Regions from separate parts of the Homo sapiens genome. Here all the other regions are linked to region 1. The links are contacts of gene promoters, found by promoter capture Hi-C in blood cells and fetal thymus (Javierre and others, 2016). All regions are on one chromosome and are shown on one strand. The core of a region is centred on a gene start or on the middle of the fragment in contact, and the rest is flanking DNA. Distances in the headings are between cores, read along the strand shown.

The links. Contacts are between HindIII fragments. The CHiCAGO score rates a contact against its expected background, and 5 or more counts as called.
Region 2: a fragment that was not itself captured here is called in contact with the fragment with the promoter of ZNF583 in region 1 in 3 of 17 cell types (total CD4 T cells, naive CD8 T cells and activated CD4 T cells); the score reaches 11.5 in total CD4 T cells.
Region 3: a contact is called between a fragment that was not itself captured here and the fragment with the promoter of ZNF583 in region 1, in 1 of 17 cell types (non-activated CD4 T cells). The highest score is 6.2, in non-activated CD4 T cells.

Annotation. Positions count from the first base shown.
Region 1 is chr19:56,403,009-56,405,914 of GRCh38, forward strand. ZNF583 (zinc finger protein 583) reads left to right here and starts at 1,324. Exons shown (of 5, transcript NM_152478.3): 1 at 1,324-1,444. RefSeq lists an enhancer at 748-887 and a silencer at 1,348-1,557. The HindIII fragment of the contact is 8,045 bases long and covers 1-2,906 here.
Region 2 is chr19:36,383,793-36,386,650 of GRCh38, forward strand. It overlaps a transcript of ZFP82 not described here. Among named protein-coding and RNA genes, the nearest start is that of ZFP14, 6.0 kb to the left of the region's middle. The HindIII fragment of the contact is 2,419 bases long and covers 66-2,484 here.
Region 3 is chr19:36,365,317-36,368,315 of GRCh38, forward strand. It overlaps ZFP14 (ZFP14 zinc finger protein), which reads right to left. Exons shown (of 5, transcript NM_020917.3): 2 at 2,568-2,655. The coding sequence starts at 2,576. Among named protein-coding and RNA genes, the nearest start is that of ZFP14, 12 kb to the right of the region's middle. The HindIII fragment of the contact is 9,657 bases long and covers 1-2,999 here.

The DNA.
Region 1 (2,906 bases), core at 74-2,573:
GACGGGATTTTAATCAACCATGCCTATGTAATGAAGCCTCTGTAAAACTCCCAAAAGACAGGGTTTAGAGAGCTTCCACCCAGCTGAACATGTGGAGGTTACTGGAAGGTGCAACACCCTTTTTTCTGTACTTTGCCCTACGCATCTCTTCATCTATATCATTTGTAATATCCTTTATAATAAACTAGTAAACATAAGTGTTTCCTGAGTTCCGTGAGCCACTCTAGCAAAATATCGAACCGCAAAGAGGGGGTGGTGAAAATCCCAATTTGAAGGTGGTGGAGTCAGATGTTCCAGAGGCTAGACTTTAGTGGGAAGTGGGAAGGGGGAGGCAGGCTTGGGGACTGAGCCCTCAGCGAATGGTGTCTGACCCATCTCCAAGTAGACGGCGTCGGAATTAAACTGGAGGACACCCAGCTGGTGCCCGCTGCAGAACTCACTGAACTCATTGCTTGCTTGAGATGTGTGGGAAACTCCCCTATATTTGGTCAGAAAAGTCTTCTGTTATGATTAGTTGTCGTTGAGATAATAGAAAAAAATGCACCTTGCGTTTTTTCCACTGATTCAGAGGGCATAACTGAAAGAATGAAGAACTGAAAGAATGATCTTAATACTCTGCTTCGCTTTTCTTGATAATACGCATTACTTCCCAATATGCATCAGTGTCCTTTATTATTAATTTTTTCCTATTGAATTCCTCCCGCATTAGAATGCTGCTCCATGAGGTGGGGATTTTGTCTGCTTGTTCACTGCTGTGTGCCCAGGGCCCACGACAGTGCCCGATACAGCAGGCGCTCAATAAGTGGCGAATGAAAGACAGGGCAAGGCGGAGAGAGAAGAAACAGAAAGGGAAAGAGAAAGCCCGGGCCGCCAGAGCGCTTAATCACACGTACATCCTACCGGGCCCCTCTCCAGCTGGCTCAGGCTCCACACTGGTCCTCCAGCTCCCTTTTCTCAGCGATGGACTCACAGCCCCACCCGGAGCGCTGGAGCGCGGACGCGGTCACTGCGCGTGCGCCTCACCGCGCTGGCACCCCGGCCTGGCAGCCTTTGGGGACCTGAACCAGCTGCGCCTGCGCAGGTGGAACGGGTGGAACGGGTGGGGGAGCGGACAGTCGAACGGCCTGAGAGGGCTCAGCTGGTCCGGGTGGGATTCTGAAGGCCAGCGGAGGTGGGCTTACTAGGGAAAGGGGCGCAGCAGTAACTACCCGCAACTGAGCGGCGGGATCTGCGGCCGCCCGGGGCCCTCGGCCAACATCCCAGCATCCTCTGCGCCGCGCCGGCCCCGGACTCCATTTCCCAGCGGCCCCTGCGGCCTGCCCTAGGGCTGCGGCGCCTTTGTGAGCGCGGCCGCCGGCCAGGATCGAGCCCTGGCCCGGGCCCTGGCCCAGCCCCGGCCTCCAAGGACCGCGCCGAAGGAGGTGCCCACTGGAGGGAGGAGGCGGTGAGGAGCGCGGGATGGAGCTGACGCCGGGAGCGGCCATGCCACCATGTGTGGGACCGTGTGTGACAGTGTGTGAGAATGTGTGAGACATTAAGGAACCGTGTGTGACAATGTGTTTGACAGTGTGGAATCGTGTGTGAGACCATGTGTGACTGTGTGAGAATTTGAGACCGTGTGTGACAGTGTGAGAATGTGAGGCCGTGTGTGAATATGTGTGTCAGTGTGAGACCATGTGGGACAAATGTGGGACTATGTGTGACAGTATGAGACTGGGTGTGAGAATGTGTGCGACAGTATGAGACCGTTGCCCCGGTGTATGCGGGAGCCTTTGACAGTATATGGGACCGTGTGGGACTGTGTGACACTGTATGTGCTTAAGACCACGTCACCATGTGTGAGACTGGGAATGTGTGACAGTGTTAAACTGTCATTATGTGTAGACCACGTGTGAACAGTGTGTAAGACCATGTCACTGTGTGTGTGACCTGTGTGTGTGGGATAATGTAAGACTGTGTGACAGTGTGTGTGACTTTGTGAACAGAGCTTGACCGTGTGTGTAGGATTAGATGAGACTGTGACAGTATGTGAGACCATGTCACCGTGTGTGAGGCTATGTGTGGTTGTGTACGGTGTGTGGCTGTTGATATGGGACCACATGAAACTGCGACAGAATTTGTGTGACAGTGTGTGAGACTGTGTCACTGTATGTGAAACTGTATGTGAACAGAGTTTTTGTTGTTGGACTAAGATTGTATGTGACAGTGTTTGAGATTGTGCATGACAGTGTGTGTGATTATGTGAGACTGAGGGAGATGGTGTGACTTAGCACTGTATGTCATCCCGACAGTGAGTGTGACAGTGTGACTGAGAATGGCCTTATATGACCCATTGTGAGAGCAGGGCGGGCTACAATGTGGGGGCATGTCCATAGGTTGCCAGGGGAGGTGCCAGAATGAGAAACTATGTGGTTTGTTGTCTGTGATTTGTGTGGGCAGGAAGCTGTGTGGGTGCTTGGAGATGCTGGTGTGCTCTGGGGTTTGGGAGACTGCTGTTGTGGTGGAGAGACAGAAAGATTGAGATAAAGGGGAAAAGATGGAGAAAGGGAGGGACGAGAGCTGAAAAGGGAGAGACAGACAGGAGCCTCAGCCTTAAGCCTGAAAAGCTGACCACGCTGGCTGCTTGTCCTCTGGCACAGTAGTTTTTCCATCCCTCTCAGTCTCTGGGGGCACGTGAGGAATTTAAAAGGAAAAAGGAATGGGAGACCTACCATGTGCTGGTTATGAAAATAAATGACAGAAAGATGAAAATTAAGCACTGTGCTCAATGCTTTATGTAGATCATTTCAGAATCCTCCCAACAATTGATAGGGAATAGTTACCATTTCACTGATAGAGAAACAGGTTTGCAGTGGTTACCTAACTTGCCAGAGGTTGTATAGGTAGCATGTGGTGGTTTGGCTGTT
Region 2 (2,858 bases), core at 25-2,524, about 20 Mb before region 1:
TTATAACAAAGGACTACTATCTAGAATTTTATTTTTTAAGAATCTTATAATTCTTATATTTTAAAAGCTTTTTTAAAGGAACACAGGCAAAGACATAAATTGGCAAGTTACAGCGTTTAGCCAATATTCAGATGTGAAAATATGCCCAATTCACTATTAACCAGGAAAATATTACTATGCATACCAGAAGTAAGGATATAAGGAAATAAGGAAAACATATTTCACTGGTTGAAGGGATTGTGCACTGGGAGCATACTGATGCTCTCTACTTCTATGACAGTATCTAGTGAGGTTGAAAGTAAATATTAACTATGACTGAGCAATCCTACTTTTGATAAATACCTTAGAGAAACTCTTGCTTATGTACAGTAATAAACACAGACCTATTCAATAAGGTATTTTTCACAGTGAGAAAATGCTTATCACCTAAATATTGATCAATAAGAAAGTTTAAATACATATAATGTATATATAAAAGATAGGACTAGTGGGCTTTCTATTCTATTGAAAAGTATCATTCAAAAAAAGCAAGCAGCTGGTTACAAAGCATGATGGGAGTTGCTTTCCTCACCATACCAGTAATCATACATCTGCCATAATGCTGACATTTTCATCTTCGAAGTCCTTTTGGTTATCGCAGCATCTGCCAAAGTAGAATCACATCTGCAATAGGTATTGGGAATGGGAGTTCTATGGTGAAGTCTGAATTACACTGAGTTAAATAAAATAAAACTCCATTTTCTTTCATATTGATAGGCACATAATGTGACTTTTTCCCCCAAGAAATATAGTACACAGAGCTCTCATACATGTTTCACAAAATCATTTCCTTCAAGTAGGATTAAGTACTAGTGTTCTGTGGAACATAGTTTCAGAAATTTTGAGTAAAGGTACTGTCTCCAGAAGACCTCTGTTAATGTGAAAATGTTACCTAAGAGGAGAAACACATTGTCCTATTAGCAAAACCTAATTTTATTATAGCACTTAAAATAGTCTTCTTCATGTTACATTTTACTGTTTACAAATTAAAAACCATGTGAAATCTTGGGTGGACAAGATGTATTATTCTAGATGATTAATGACTAATTAATGACATCTGCCCAATCTGAGCAAACTGGACTTGGAGGTACAAATCTTAATCTATGAATAGAGTGACATTACAGAGATTTGGTTAAAAATAAAGAGTTGTGGCAATACTTACTTTTATTTTGTGGAAGGTGCTGTGGTTTGAATGTGTCCCCCAAAGTTCATTTCCAAGTTTTTGGGAGAAACTTGATCCCCAATGCAACAATATTAAGAGGTGGGACTGTTAAGAGGTGATTAGGCCATGAGGAGTCTGCCCTTAGGAATGGATTAATGTTGTTACCACAGGAATGGGTTTGTTATCACGTGAGTGGGTTTCTTATAAAAGGGTGAGTTTGGCCCCTTTTGCTGGCTTGCTCTCTCTCTCACCCCCTTTGCCCTTCCGCCATGAGATGACACAGCAAGAGGCCACTCATAAGATGTCAGCCTGTCAATCTTGGGCTTCTCAGTCTCCAGAACCATGAGTCAATAAATTTCTGTTTGCTGTGGATTACTGAGTCTGTAGTATTCTGTTATAGCAACACAAAACAGACTAAGACAGAAAATTGGTACTGGAAAAGTACGCAGTTGCTATAATGAATAACTGAAAGTGTGGAAGTGGCTTTGGAACTAGGTAATGGGTAAGAGCTGAAAAAGTTTTGAACTGGATGTCAGAAAAAGACTATTGCTGTGGGTGGAATGTTAAAGGGTGATTCTGGTGAGGGCTCAGAAGAGCTGTATGGAAAGTCTGAAACTTTTTAGAGATTACTTCAGTGGTTGTGATCAGAATGTTGATAAATATAGGGATGGCAAAGGCAATTCTGGTGAGGTCTCAGCTGGAAATGAGAAACAAGGTATTGGAAACTGGAATAAAGGCCATCCTTATTAGAAATTAACAAAGAATCTGGCTGAATTTGTGTCCATGCCTTGGGCTTTATTGGAAGGCAGAATTTAAGAGCAATGAACTAATATGTGGTGGAAGAAATTTCTAAGGAAAATACTGAAAGAGCTACATGGCTTCTTTTAACTGCATATAGTAAGATGTGAGAGGTAGAAATGATTTAAAGATAAAACATAATTAAAAGGAAGGCAGAACAAAAAGATATGGAAAATTTGCAGCCTGGCCATTTATGAAGTGAAAAGGTGTGTTTAGGAGTGCAAACCAAGGTTGTATACCCAGAGACTGCTGAAAAGATTAGTATGAATAGAAGGAAGACAGGAGCTATCAAGACAGTGGGAGAATGACCCTGAAGGCATTCTGGCGCTCTTTGAGGCTGCCCCTTCCATCACAGACAGCATTCACTGGCTCATGCTGCCTCATGACTCTGCTTCCCACATGCCAGTAGAGTGCCCTTGGCTGCCCCAGCCATTGGTTCCTGCTGGCTCAGGTGTGGCTCAGCCTGCCACTGGGCATAAGCTGTAAGCTTGTGGTGGCAGCATCAATGTGGTGCTAATTTGGCAGGAGTGCAGAATGCAAGAGTCACGGGGGCATGGCTTCCTTCACTTAGATTTCAAAGGATGCCTTGGGTAGCCTGGGGGCCCAGTCAGATTTGTCCATGAGCAGAACCACTGCAGAGAGTCCCCACTAGGACAGTGCCTAATGGAGAGAGGCCATCCCCAAGACCCCAGAACTGAAGACCTACCAGTGTAAAACTCCAACCTGTGACAGATGCTCTATGGCATAAGCCCAGCAAAGCCATGGGGGCAAGGCTGTCTGAGAACCAGCCCCCACCCCAGTGTGTCCAAGTAGGTCATAGAGTTAAGGAAGGGTCTTCTGGAGCCTTAAGAGTTAATGT
Region 3 (2,999 bases), core at 263-2,762, about 20 Mb before region 1:
TCTTTTACTAAATTCATTTTTCTCATTTGCTTGGTTTCTTTCTCCACAATTTTCTTCAATACTTTTCCAATCTTTTAGGAACTCATTTTACACTAGACAAAAATGAGGGCTATATGTGAAGCACAGTATGGAAAAGTGTTTCCAACAAGAACGTGATAGCGGGAACGGCTGACACTCAGGATGGTGCTCTGTTACCTCCTCAGTCACTAGCAGCACCAGGTACACACATGCCCTTGAATGATAGTTATACACATTTCAAAACATCTGCAGATGGTTCCATTGGTCTAACAACTGTATTTGGGATATAACAAGATTTTTCCTGGATGTTATTTTTGTTTTTTAAAAAAAAGCATTGTATTGGATCAGGTGCGGTGGATCACACCTATAATGCCAATACTTTGGGAGGCTAAAGTGGGAGAATCACTTGAGCCCAGGAGTTTGAGTTCAGCTTAGGCAACATAGTGGGACCCCATCTCTACAAAAAATTTTAAAAATTAGCCAAGAGTGGTGGCACGTGCCTGTAGTCCCCAGTACTCAGGAGGCTGAGGTGGGAGGATCACCTGAGCCTGGGAGGTCGGGGCTGCAGTTAGTTGGGATCATACCACCGCATTCCGGCCTGGGTGACTGAGTGAGACCTTCTGTCAAAAAAAAAAAAAGGCTGGGTGTCATGGTGGATGGTGGCTCATGCCTGTAATCTCAGCACTTTGGGAGGTCGAGGCAGGTGGATCACTTGAGGTCAGGAGTTTGAGACCAGCCTGGCCGACATGGTGAAACCCCGTCTCTACAAAAAAAAACACAAAAAATAGCTGGGAGTGGTGGTGGGCGCCTGTAACTCCAGGTACTCAGAAGGCTGAGGCAGGAGAATCGCTTGAACCCAGAAAGCGGAGGTTGCAGTGAGCCGAGATCCTGCCACTGCACTCCAGCCTGGGCGACAGAGCGAGACTCTGTCTCAAAAAAAAAAAATTGTATTGAACTATATGATTCCACTTGAACAAAGTTCTTGTTTTGTTTTGTCTTTTTGAGATAGGGTCTGGCTCTGTCATCCAGGCTGGAGTGCAATGGTGCGATCTCGGTTCACTGTAACCTCCACCTCCCGAGCTCTAGTCATTCGCCCACCTCAGCCTCCTGAGTAGCTGCGTCTATAGGTGTGCCACCATGCCCAGCTAGGTTTTGTATTTTTTGTAGAGACACGGTTTTGCCTTGTTGCCCGGGATGGTCTGGAACTCCTGAGCTTAAGCGATCTGCCCACCTCAGCCTCCCCAAGTACTGGGATTACAGGCATGAGCCACCACACCTGCCCCACTTGAACAAGGTTCCAAAAATAAGCAAAATTACATTATAGTGTTCGACATCAAGACAGTGGTTACCCTGGGCAGTAGGTGGGTGGGGAGTGACTGAAAGCATCTGAGGTGATTTCCTTTCTTGACCTGATAGCATAGATGTACTCAATTTATGAAAATTCATCCAGCCATACACTTATGGTTTGTATATTTTTTTGTATATATGTCATTCCTCCACAAAAAATTTCAAAAACGTTTTAAAAATGTCATATTGTGGCCAGGTGCAGTGGCTCATACCTGTAATCTTAGCACTCTGGGAGGCCGAGGCAGGCAGATCACCTGAGATGAGGAGTTCAAGACAATCCTGTCCAACATGGTGAAATCCCATCTCTACTAAAAATGCAAAAATTAGCCAGGTATGGTGGCGGGCACCTGTAATCCCAGCTACTTGGGAGGCTGAGGCAGGAGAATTGCTTGAACCCAGAAGGTGGAGGTTGCAGTGAGCCGAGATCATGCCACTGCACTCCAGCCTGGGTGATAAGAGTGAAACTCTGTCTCAAAAAAAAAAAAAATGTCATATTATGTATTGGGGACACCTATTTTTTCTATGTAAAACTAAGACAAAAAGCACTGTACTGAGAAAAATATACTTTTTCTGGAGTTTAAGTTTTAAAATGAAAAGCGGTTCCACTGGAAGATGTTAACAGGAGGACATTCTGCAGAGAATGCCTTCAATTTTCTCAAGGCATCTCATTTCCGCTTTCTCACAGCTATTGACAGAAGATTTTGTAGGTAGGAGATGCTCAACATTAGTGGGAGAAGAGATAGCCACATAGGATACTGGGCTATCTGTCCCAATCCTCACAGGAGGGAAAAGAACTGGAGTAGGTTCTTTTTTTTTTGAGATGGTGTCTTGCTCTGTCGCCCCAGCTGGAGTGCAGTAACGCAATCTCGGCTCACTGCAGCCTCTACCTCCCGGGTTCCAGCAATTCTCCTGCCTCAGCCTCCTGGGCGCCTGCCACCACACTGGCTAATTTTTGTATTTTTAGTAGAGACAGGGTTTCACCATGTTGGCCAGGCTGGTCTCGAACTCCTGACCTCAAGTGATCCGCCTGCCTCGGCCTCCCAAAGTGCTGGGATTACAGGCGTGAGCCATTGCGTCCAGCCATGGAGCAGGTTCTTGGATGAAGCTCTGGTAAGCAGGAAGTTTCAGAATAAAGAATGAATCTATATACATGATACAGAAATTGACAGTATTTCGAAAAGGACAGAGAAACATTAACTTACATGGGCCATGGTTTTAGAACTGCAAAAACTGGTCAGTCCTTTTCAAGATTTCTCTGTTGGAGAACTATGGAGTCCTGATAAGCCAGAGCTGAAAGAAGAAAAAGAAACCATGAAATAAGCTGCGCCACAGAGCTCCCAAAATGATGTACATCATAAATATGAAAACTTTTTTCTCTTCCATTCCTTCTCCCAAACTACTTCCATTGGCTTTTCCAAAGTACCACCCACCACTATGCCCATCCCTATCCTATACCCACATATAACTGGGGAAAAGTATAGGGAGTCTAAAGAGAAACAAGCTCTGGCCGGGCACGGTGGCTCTCGCCTGTAATCTCAGCACTTTGGGAGGCCAAGGCAGTTGGAGCACCTGAGGTCGGGAGTTCGAGACCAGCCTGACCAACATGCAGAAACCCTGCCTCTACTAAAAATACA